2 separate regions of the Homo sapiens genome follow, and region 2 is linked to region 1. Evidence: promoter capture Hi-C in human tissues and cell types (Jung and others, 2019). All regions are on one chromosome and are shown on one strand. The core of a region is centred on a gene start or on the middle of the fragment in contact, and the rest is flanking DNA. Distances in the headings are between cores, read along the strand shown. Region 1 holds the start of DMPK (DM1 protein kinase). Region 2 has its middle 8.4 kb from the start of IGFL3.

What was found. The method cuts DNA at HindIII sites, captures the fragments that hold promoters and counts their contacts. A contact is called where the count stands out against the background at its distance.
Region 2: a fragment that was not itself captured here is called in contact with the fragment with the promoter of DMPK in region 1 in 1 of the 25 tissues and cell types used here (lymphoblastoid cells).

Annotation. Positions count from the first base shown.
Region 1 is chr19:45,780,025-45,784,366 of GRCh38, reverse strand. It overlaps DMPK (DM1 protein kinase), which reads left to right and starts at 1,877. Exons shown (of 15, transcript NM_004409.5): 1 at 1,877-2,174. The coding sequence starts at 2,015. DMWD (DM1 locus, WD repeat containing) reads left to right here. Exons shown (of 5, transcript NM_004943.2): 5 at 77-1,420. The coding sequence ends at 124. The HindIII fragment of the contact is 9,498 bases long and covers 611-4,342 here.
Region 2 is chr19:46,114,232-46,118,317 of GRCh38, reverse strand. It overlaps a transcript of IGFL2 not described here. Among named protein-coding and RNA genes, the nearest start is that of IGFL3, 8.4 kb to the left of the region's middle. The HindIII fragment of the contact is 4,320 bases long and covers 34-4,086 here.

The DNA of each region.
Region 1 (4,342 bases), core at 628-3,127:
GGCTCCCTCCCCTTGACACTGGCTGAAGCCCAGGTGGTCTCTAACCCCTCCCATCTCTCCCTCTCATCTTCCCCAGGGCATCTCCTCCCAACCAGGCAACTCCCCGAGTGGCACAGTGGTGTGAAGCCATGGATATCGGGCCCCCCCAACCCCATGCCCCCAGCCTCCTAGCCATAACCCTCCCTGCTGACCTCACAGATCAACGTATTAACAAGACTAACCATGATGGATGGACTGCTCCAGTCCCCCCACCTGCACAAAATTTGGGGGCCCCCCAGACTGGCCCGGACACGGGCGATGTAATAGCCCTTGTGGCCTCAGCCTTGTCCCCCACCCACTGCCAAGTACAATGACCTCTTCCTCTGAAACATCAGTGTTACCCTCATCCCTGTCCCCAGCATGTGACTGGTCACTCCTGGGGAGAGACTCCCCGCCCCTGCCACAAGAGCCCCAGGTCTGCAGTGTGCCCCTCAGTTGAGTGGGCAGGGCCGGGGGTGGTCCAGCCCTCGCCCGGCCCCCACCCCAGCTGCCCTTGCTATTGTCTGTGCTTTTGAAGAGTGTTAAATTATGGAAGCCCCTCAGGTTCCTCCCTGTCCCGCAGGACCTCTTATTTATACTAAAGTTCCCTGTTTTCTCAGCGGGTCTGTCCCCTTCGGAGGAGATGATGTAGAGGACCTGTGTGTGTACTCTGTGGTTCTAGGCAGTCCGCTTTCCCCAGAGGAGGAGTGCAGGCCTGCTCCCAGCCCAGCGCCTCCCACCCCTTTTCATAGCAGGAAAAGCCGGAGCCCAGGGAGGGAACGGACCTGCGAGTCACACAACTGGTGACCCACACCAGCGGCTGGAGCAGGACCCTCTTGGGGAGAAGAGCATCCTGCCCGCAGCCAGGGCCCCTCATCAAAGTCCTCGGTGTTTTTTAAATTATCAGAACTGCCCAGGACCACGTTTCCCAGGCCCTGCCCAGCTGGGACTCCTCGGTCCTTGCCTCCTAGTTTCTCAGGCCTGGCCCTCTCAAGGCCCAGGCACCCCAGGCCGGTTGGAGGCCCCGACTTCCACTCTGGAGAACCGTCCACCCTGGAAAGAAGAGCTCAGATTCCTCTTGGCTCTCGGAGCCGCAGGGAGTGTGTCTTCCCGCGCCACCCTCCACCCCCCGAAATGTTTCTGTTTCTAATCCCAGCCTGGGCAGGAATGTGGCTCCCCGGCCAGGGGCCAAGGAGCTATTTTGGGGTCTCGTTTGCCCAGGGAGGGCTTGGCTCCACCACTTTCCTCCCCCAGCCTTTGGGCAGCAGGTCACCCCTGTTCAGGCTCTGAGGGTGCCCCCTCCTGGTCCTGTCCTCACCACCCCTTCCCCACCTCCTGGGAAAAAAAAAAAAAAAAAAAAAAAAAGCTGGTATAAAGCAGAGAGCCTGAGGGCTAAATTTAACTGTCCGAGTCGGAATCCATCTCTGAGTCACCCAAGAAGCTGCCCTGGCCTCCCGTCCCCTTCCCAGGCCTCAACCCCTTTCTCCCACCCAGCCCCAACCCCCAGCCCTCACCCCCTAGCCCCCAGTTCTGGAGCTTGTCGGGAGCAAGGGGGTGGTTGCTACTGGGTCACTCAGCCTCAATTGGCCCTGTTTCAGCAATGGGCAGGTTCTTCTTGAAATTCATCACACCTGTGGCTTCCTCTGTGCTCTACCTTTTTATTGGGGTGACAGTGTGACAGCTGAGATTCTCCATGCATTCCCCCTACTCTAGCACTGAAGGGTTCTGAAGGGCCCTGGAAGGAGGGAGCTTGGGGGGCTGGCTTGTGAGGGGTTAAGGCTGGGAGGCGGGAGGGGGGCTGGACCAAGGGGTGGGGAGAAGGGGAGGAGGCCTCGGCCGGCCGCAGAGAGAAGTGGCCAGAGAGGCCCAGGGGACAGCCAGGGACAGGCAGACATGCAGCCAGGGCTCCAGGGCCTGGACAGGGGCTGCCAGGCCCTGTGACAGGAGGACCCCGAGCCCCCGGCCCGGGGAGGGGCCATGGTGCTGCCTGTCCAACATGTCAGCCGAGGTGCGGCTGAGGCGGCTCCAGCAGCTGGTGTTGGACCCGGGCTTCCTGGGGCTGGAGCCCCTGCTCGACCTTCTCCTGGGCGTCCACCAGGAGCTGGGCGCCTCCGAACTGGCCCAGGACAAGTACGTGGCCGACTTCTTGCAGTGGGGTGAGTGCCTACCCTCGGGGCTCCTGCAGATGGGGTGGGGGTGGGGCAGGAGACAGGTCTGGGCACAGAGGCCTGGCTGTTGGGGGGGCAGGATGGCAGGATGGGCATGGGGAGATCCTCCCATCCTGGGGCTCAGAGTGTGGACCTGGGCCCTGGGGCAACATTTCTCTGTCCTATGCCACCACTCTGGAGGGGCAGAGTAAGGTCAGCAGAGGCTAGGGTGGCTGTGACTCAGAGCCATGGCTTAGGAGTCACAGCAGGCTAGGCTGCCAACAGCCTCCCATGGCCTCTCTGCACCCCGCCTCAGGGTCAGGGTCAGGGTCATGCTGGGAGCTCCCTCTCCTAGGACCCTCCCCCCAAAAGTGGGCTCTATGGCCCTCTCCCCTGGTTTCCTGTGGCCTGGGGCAAGCCAGGAGGGCCAGCATGGGGCAGCTGCCAGGGGCGCAGCCGACAGGCAGGTGTTCGGCGCCAGCCTCTCCAGCTGCCCCAACAGGTGCCCAGGCACTGGGAGGGCGGTGACTCACGCGGGCCCTGTGGGAGAACCAGCTTTGCAGACAGGCGCCACCAGTGCCCCCTCCTCTGCGATCCAGGAGGGACAACTTTGGGTTCTTCTGGGTGTGTCTCCTTCTTTTGTAGGTTCTGCACCCACCCCCACCCCCAGCCCCAAAGTCTCGGTTCCTATGAGCCGTGTGGGTCAGCCACCATTCCCGCCACCCCGGGTCCCTGCGTCCTTTAGTTCTCCTGGCCCAGGGCCTCCAACCTTCCAGCTGTCCCACAAAACCCCTTCTTGCAAGGGCTTTCCAGGGCCTGGGGCCAGGGCTGGAAGGAGGATGCTTCCGCTTCTGCCAGCTGCCTTGTCTGCCCACCTCCTCCCCAAGCCCAGGACTCGGGCTCACTGGTCACTGGTTTCTTTCATTCCCAGCACCCTGCCCCTCTGGCCCTCATATGTCTGGCCCTCAGTGACTGGTGTTTGGTTTTTGGCCTGTGTGTAACAAACTGTGTGTGACACTTGTTTCCTGTTTCTCCGCCTTCCCCTGCTTCCTCTTGTGTCCATCTCTTTCTGACCCAGGCCTGGTTCCTTTCCCTCCTCCTCCCATTTCACAGATGGGAAGGTGGAGGCCAAGAAGGGCCAGGCCATTCAGCCTCTGGAAAAACCTTCTCCCAACCTCCCACAGCCCCTAATGACTCTCCTGGCCTCCCTTTAGTAGAGGATGAAGTTGGGTTGGCAGGGTAAACTGAGACCGGGTGGGGTAGGGGTCTGGCGCTCCCGGGAGGAGCACTCCTTTTGTGGCCCGAGCTGCATCTCGCGGCCCCTCCCCTGCCAGGCCTGGGGCGGGGGAGGGGGCCAGGGTTCCTGCTGCCTTAAAAGGGCTCAATGTCTTGGCTCTCTCCTCCCTCCCCCGTCCTCAGCCCTGGCTGGTTCGTCCCTGCTGGCCCACTCTCCCGGAACCCCCCGGAACCCCTCTCTTTCCTCCAGAACCCACTGTCTCCTCTCCTTCCCTCCCCTCCCATACCCATCCCTCTCTCCATCCTGCCTCCACTTCTTCCACCCCCGGGAGTCCAGGCCTCCCTGTCCCCACAGTCCCTGAGCCACAAGCCTCCACCCCAGCTGGTCCCCCACCCAGGCTGCCCAGTTTAACATTCCTAGTCATAGGACCTTGACTTCTGAGAGGCCTGATTGTCATCTGTAAATAAGGGGTAGGACTAAAGCACTCCTCCTGGAGGACTGAGAGATGGGCTGGACCGGAGCACTTGAGTCTGGGATATGTGACCATGCTACCTTTGTCTCCCTGTCCTGTTCCTTCCCCCAGCCCCAAATCCAGGGTTTTCCAAAGTGTGGTTCAAGAACCACCTGCATCTGAATCTAGAGGTACTGGATACAACCCCACGTCTGGGCCGTTACCCAGGACATTCTACATGAGAACGTGGGGGTGGGGCCCTGGCTGCACCTGAACTGTCACCTGGAGTCAGGGTGGAAGGTGGAAGAACTGGGTCTTATTTCCTTCTCCCCTTGTTCTTTAGGGTCTGTCCTTCTGCAGACTCCGTTACCCCACCCTAACCATCCTGCACACCCTTGGAGCCCTCTGGGCCAATGCCCTGTCCCGCAAAGGGCTTCTCAGGCATCTCACCTCTATGGGAGGGCATTTTTGGCCCCCAGAACCTTACAC
Region 2 (4,086 bases), core at 944-3,443, 330 kb before region 1:
CATTTGTTTGAAATGTGAGTATCTACTTGCTATTCTGGTTTTCTCTGTGGGGGAGACAAACATACCTGCATCTATTCAGCCGTTATGATTCATCTCCAAAGTCTATTCCAATTTATAGAAGTTTGAAAGGCTGCCTCTAGACTATCGGTGGTTTAATGTTAAAGACATTTATGAACACTAAACTTCTCTTTAAAATTTTTTATTGTTTTAATTGCCTCCTGTTTACCTTGTTTATAAGAAAAGGATGCCCACCCTAGGGCTGTGGGGATGGCAAAACACAGGACGTTAATTCTGGGTGGATAAAATCAACAGTAGATTATTAGCCCCACGTATGCTCACAGCCTGAGGGAGGACACTGCATGCTAAGTATGGCCACAAAGGTTGCATTTAGGAGCACCTAACAAGCAGGGGCTAAGGAAGGCAGGCTCTGTAGTGTCAAGAGAGTGAGGTGGTCCCTGGTTCCTGCAGGAAGAAGTGCTATCTCCATTCTGGGGCCTGTAGTCCCAAGCAAGATTCATTTTAAAAATGAACAGATGGTAGTCCGGGCGCGGTGGCTCACACCTGTAATCCCACCACTTTGGGAGGCTAAGGTGGGTGGATCACGAGGTCAAGAGATCGAGGCCATCCTGGCCAACATGGTGAAACCCCGTCTCTACTAAAAATACAAAAAAATTAGCCAGGCTTGATGGCACATGCATGTAGTCCCAGCTACTTGAGAGGCTGACGTGGGAGGATCCCTTGGGCCCAGGAGTTTGAGGCTGCAGTGAGCTATGATTATACCACTGCACTTTAGCCTGGGTGACAGCACAAATTCTGTCTCTAAAAAAATCAAGCAAGCAAGCAAACAAACAAACAAAAAACAACAAAAAAGAAGGGACTGGAAACCACCAATTCAATCAGAAAAAAAAATTGACTTTTAAGAGAATTCTTCTTGGCCTGGTGCAATGACTCACACCTGTAATCCTAGCACTTTGAGAGGCAGAAGTAAAATGATCACTTGAGGCCAGGAGTTCAAGACCAGCCTGGGCAACATAGTGACACCTCATACCTACAAAATATCTACAAAATATAAAAATTTAAAAAGAGAGAAATCTTCCTAACTGCAGCCTCAATTAACCTTTATTCTCTAGGTATACTGAAAAACTTACTGAATAGGCTTAGCTCAATTAAAGCTTAAAATTATTTTAAAAATAAATAATAAAGTACCTTACATAATGAGAAAAAAATAGTCAAAATAAAGCTCAAGATTTTAAGGCTTCATTTTAGAATCAAATCCTTGCCTACTTTTACTCCAATCAATTAAGTTTATGCCAAACCAGTATATAAAATTTTTACTAGTTATTATAATTGCCTAATTTAATATAAGATAAACAAGTTAATTAATTTAACTTGTGTAAGTTGTACAATATAAATAATTTAATATAAGTTAAATTCGAGTGTGAAAAGATTTACTGGCTCTATTAAAACTAAAAATAATAAGCAAGGTAATGGGTATGTTAATTAGCTTGATTTAATCTTTCCACAAAGGTACCACTGTAGGTTGGTATGACTTTCCCAGAACTCCGTTACATGAATTAGAACATCACATTGTATCAAATAAATGCACACAATTATAACTTGTCCATTAAAAAAATACTAATTGGCCCGCTTCAGTAGCAAGCACATGTAATCCCCACAACCCAGGAGGCTGAGGTAGGAGGATTCCTTGGGGCCAGAATTTCGAGACTAGCCTGTGCAACAGAGTGAAACCTCATCTGTAAAAATTTAAAAATTGTTCTAATTAGAATAATACTAATCAAAAATTGCTTTAACTAAAGCAAATGCTTTGGAAAGATTCAATATATCTGAATCAGCAAAGAGACATTGTTCTTATTTGCTAGAGGCAAAGCAATGTATTTTTTTAATTACTAAAATCTAGGATTTCCCAGTCAGACTATTAGGTAAATGTCCTTAAACTCACAGCATTTTTACAGAAAACCACAAGTAGATATTGCCAGCAATGCATTATCAACGGTGTTGCTGCCAGAAAGACAACGAGAGCTCTTTTCTGTAAGCTCACACTCACAGAGAAAATTATTTGGTATGTCTTAAAAGACTGGGAAATGAGGAGATATACCTAATGTAAATTACGAGTTAATGGGTGCAGCACACCAACATGGCACATGTATACATATGTAACAAACCTGCATGTTGTGCACATGTACCCTAGAACTTAAAGTATAATAATAAAAAAAAAGATTGGGAAATGAACAATCCAAAAATAGAATTAACAGTCCCACTTATAACATCAACAAAAGGAAAAATGGACCCATCATCAGTCACCAAGACCTGAGAACAGAGAGTGGCAGCCCCTTCACACAGGCGGCAGAGCAAGGAAGCTGTCAGCCGGCGAGCCTCCTGGAGTATACCTGAGATGGGCAGAACTGGGGACATCAGTTCTCTACAGCAGCCCTGCAATGAGGGGCTGGAGTGGTATAGAAAAAATTCCAACGCTTTTTGCTGGTAAGTGGCTCTACTCATTCATTTATCCCTGTCGCTGGTTCCCTTCTTGAAGCTTGAAAATAATCTGAACTTTCCATGTCAAGAGCAGCTGGCCTCCTCCCATACATTAATTTTCTGTATTGGCTAGGTATTGGCTGCAAACACAAGATTAAATTACACAGAGAGTCGGGTAGTGAAACTGCTCCCACTCAGGCTGAGTCACCAGATTCACCCTGAGGTGAATCTGAATCAGGCTGAGGTTTCTGGGGTTGGCTGTTAGCTTGGGTCTGCATAGCTACCTCTCAGAGAACACACTGGCCACAGCTCCCAAGCTGTAGCTGTTTCTGCCTCCCCTGACCCAGAACTGCTACTTCCCTCAACATTTCCAGTGATTCGCTGCATTTCATTTTGTCTTGTGTTTTCTACTGACGCCGCCTTATTTTTGTTTTATGTGCCTTACCTGATATTTTGGGGGTTATTCACATTTTTAAAATGTATTTTCATTTTCCCTGTAAGAGAGAGCCTGTGTTTCTGGCTTGCAAACCAGGCTGGAGATGGCACCTTCCCCAGAGCTCAGGAATTCTGGGTGAGGATTGAGTGTGGGGAATGTCATGAGATTTAGCCTGCTCCTGTAGGCAAAAGGACCTTTTGAAACACACAAGTGGGGATAGTTAGGTATTTCATACACATAACATAGTTGTGATACGAAAACCAGAGAAAGATAATCACCAAATATTCTAGGACACTGGTCCTCAATATTAGCATGCACAAGAGTCACTAGGGCTATGGATGAACATAGGTGTGATACAAATGCCAGAGAAAGATAATCACCAAATATTCTAGGACACTGGTCCTCAATATTAGTATGCATGAGAGCCACTAGGGCTATGGATGAAAATGCAAATTTCTGGGCCTTACTCCCAGAGATTCTGATTCTGTAAACCTGTGGGGAGTCCAGGAAACTGCATTTTCAAAAAGCACCTGTATTAGTCAATTTTCACACTGCTATGAAGAGCTGCCTGAGACTGGGTAATTTATAAAGAAAAGTGGTTTAATTGGCTCACAGTTCCGCTTGGCTGGGAAGGTCTCTGGAAATTTAAAATCATGGCAGAAGGCAAAGGGGAACCAAGGCGTATCTTACATGGTGGCAGGAGAGAGAGAAGGAGAAAGTGCCACACTTTTTAACCATCAGATCTCAGGAGAACTCACTCACTATCACGAGAAAAGAATGAGGGAAACTGCCCCCATGATCCAATCACCTCCCACCATGTCCCTCCCTAACATGTGGGGTAATTCAAGGTAAGATTTGGGTGGGGACACAGAGCCAAACCATATCAGCACCCATGACTTTAATAAATGGAGTTCGCCAATAACTTCTGTGAAAACAAAGACTAACCAAATAAGAAAGTAAAGGCTATCTATTCTACAACAAAGAAGTCAGCCACCATCACTTCCATTTTGGGAGAGACTCAAAGACCAGCAGAGGAGTAGGAAAGCTTTATAGTGGAAAAGGTATCACCCTTTTTTTCGCATGTTCCCTGATTGGAGGCTGTTGGCATGGGGAAGCTGAGGATAGCTAACTAGATGCACAGCATCCTATGGGAT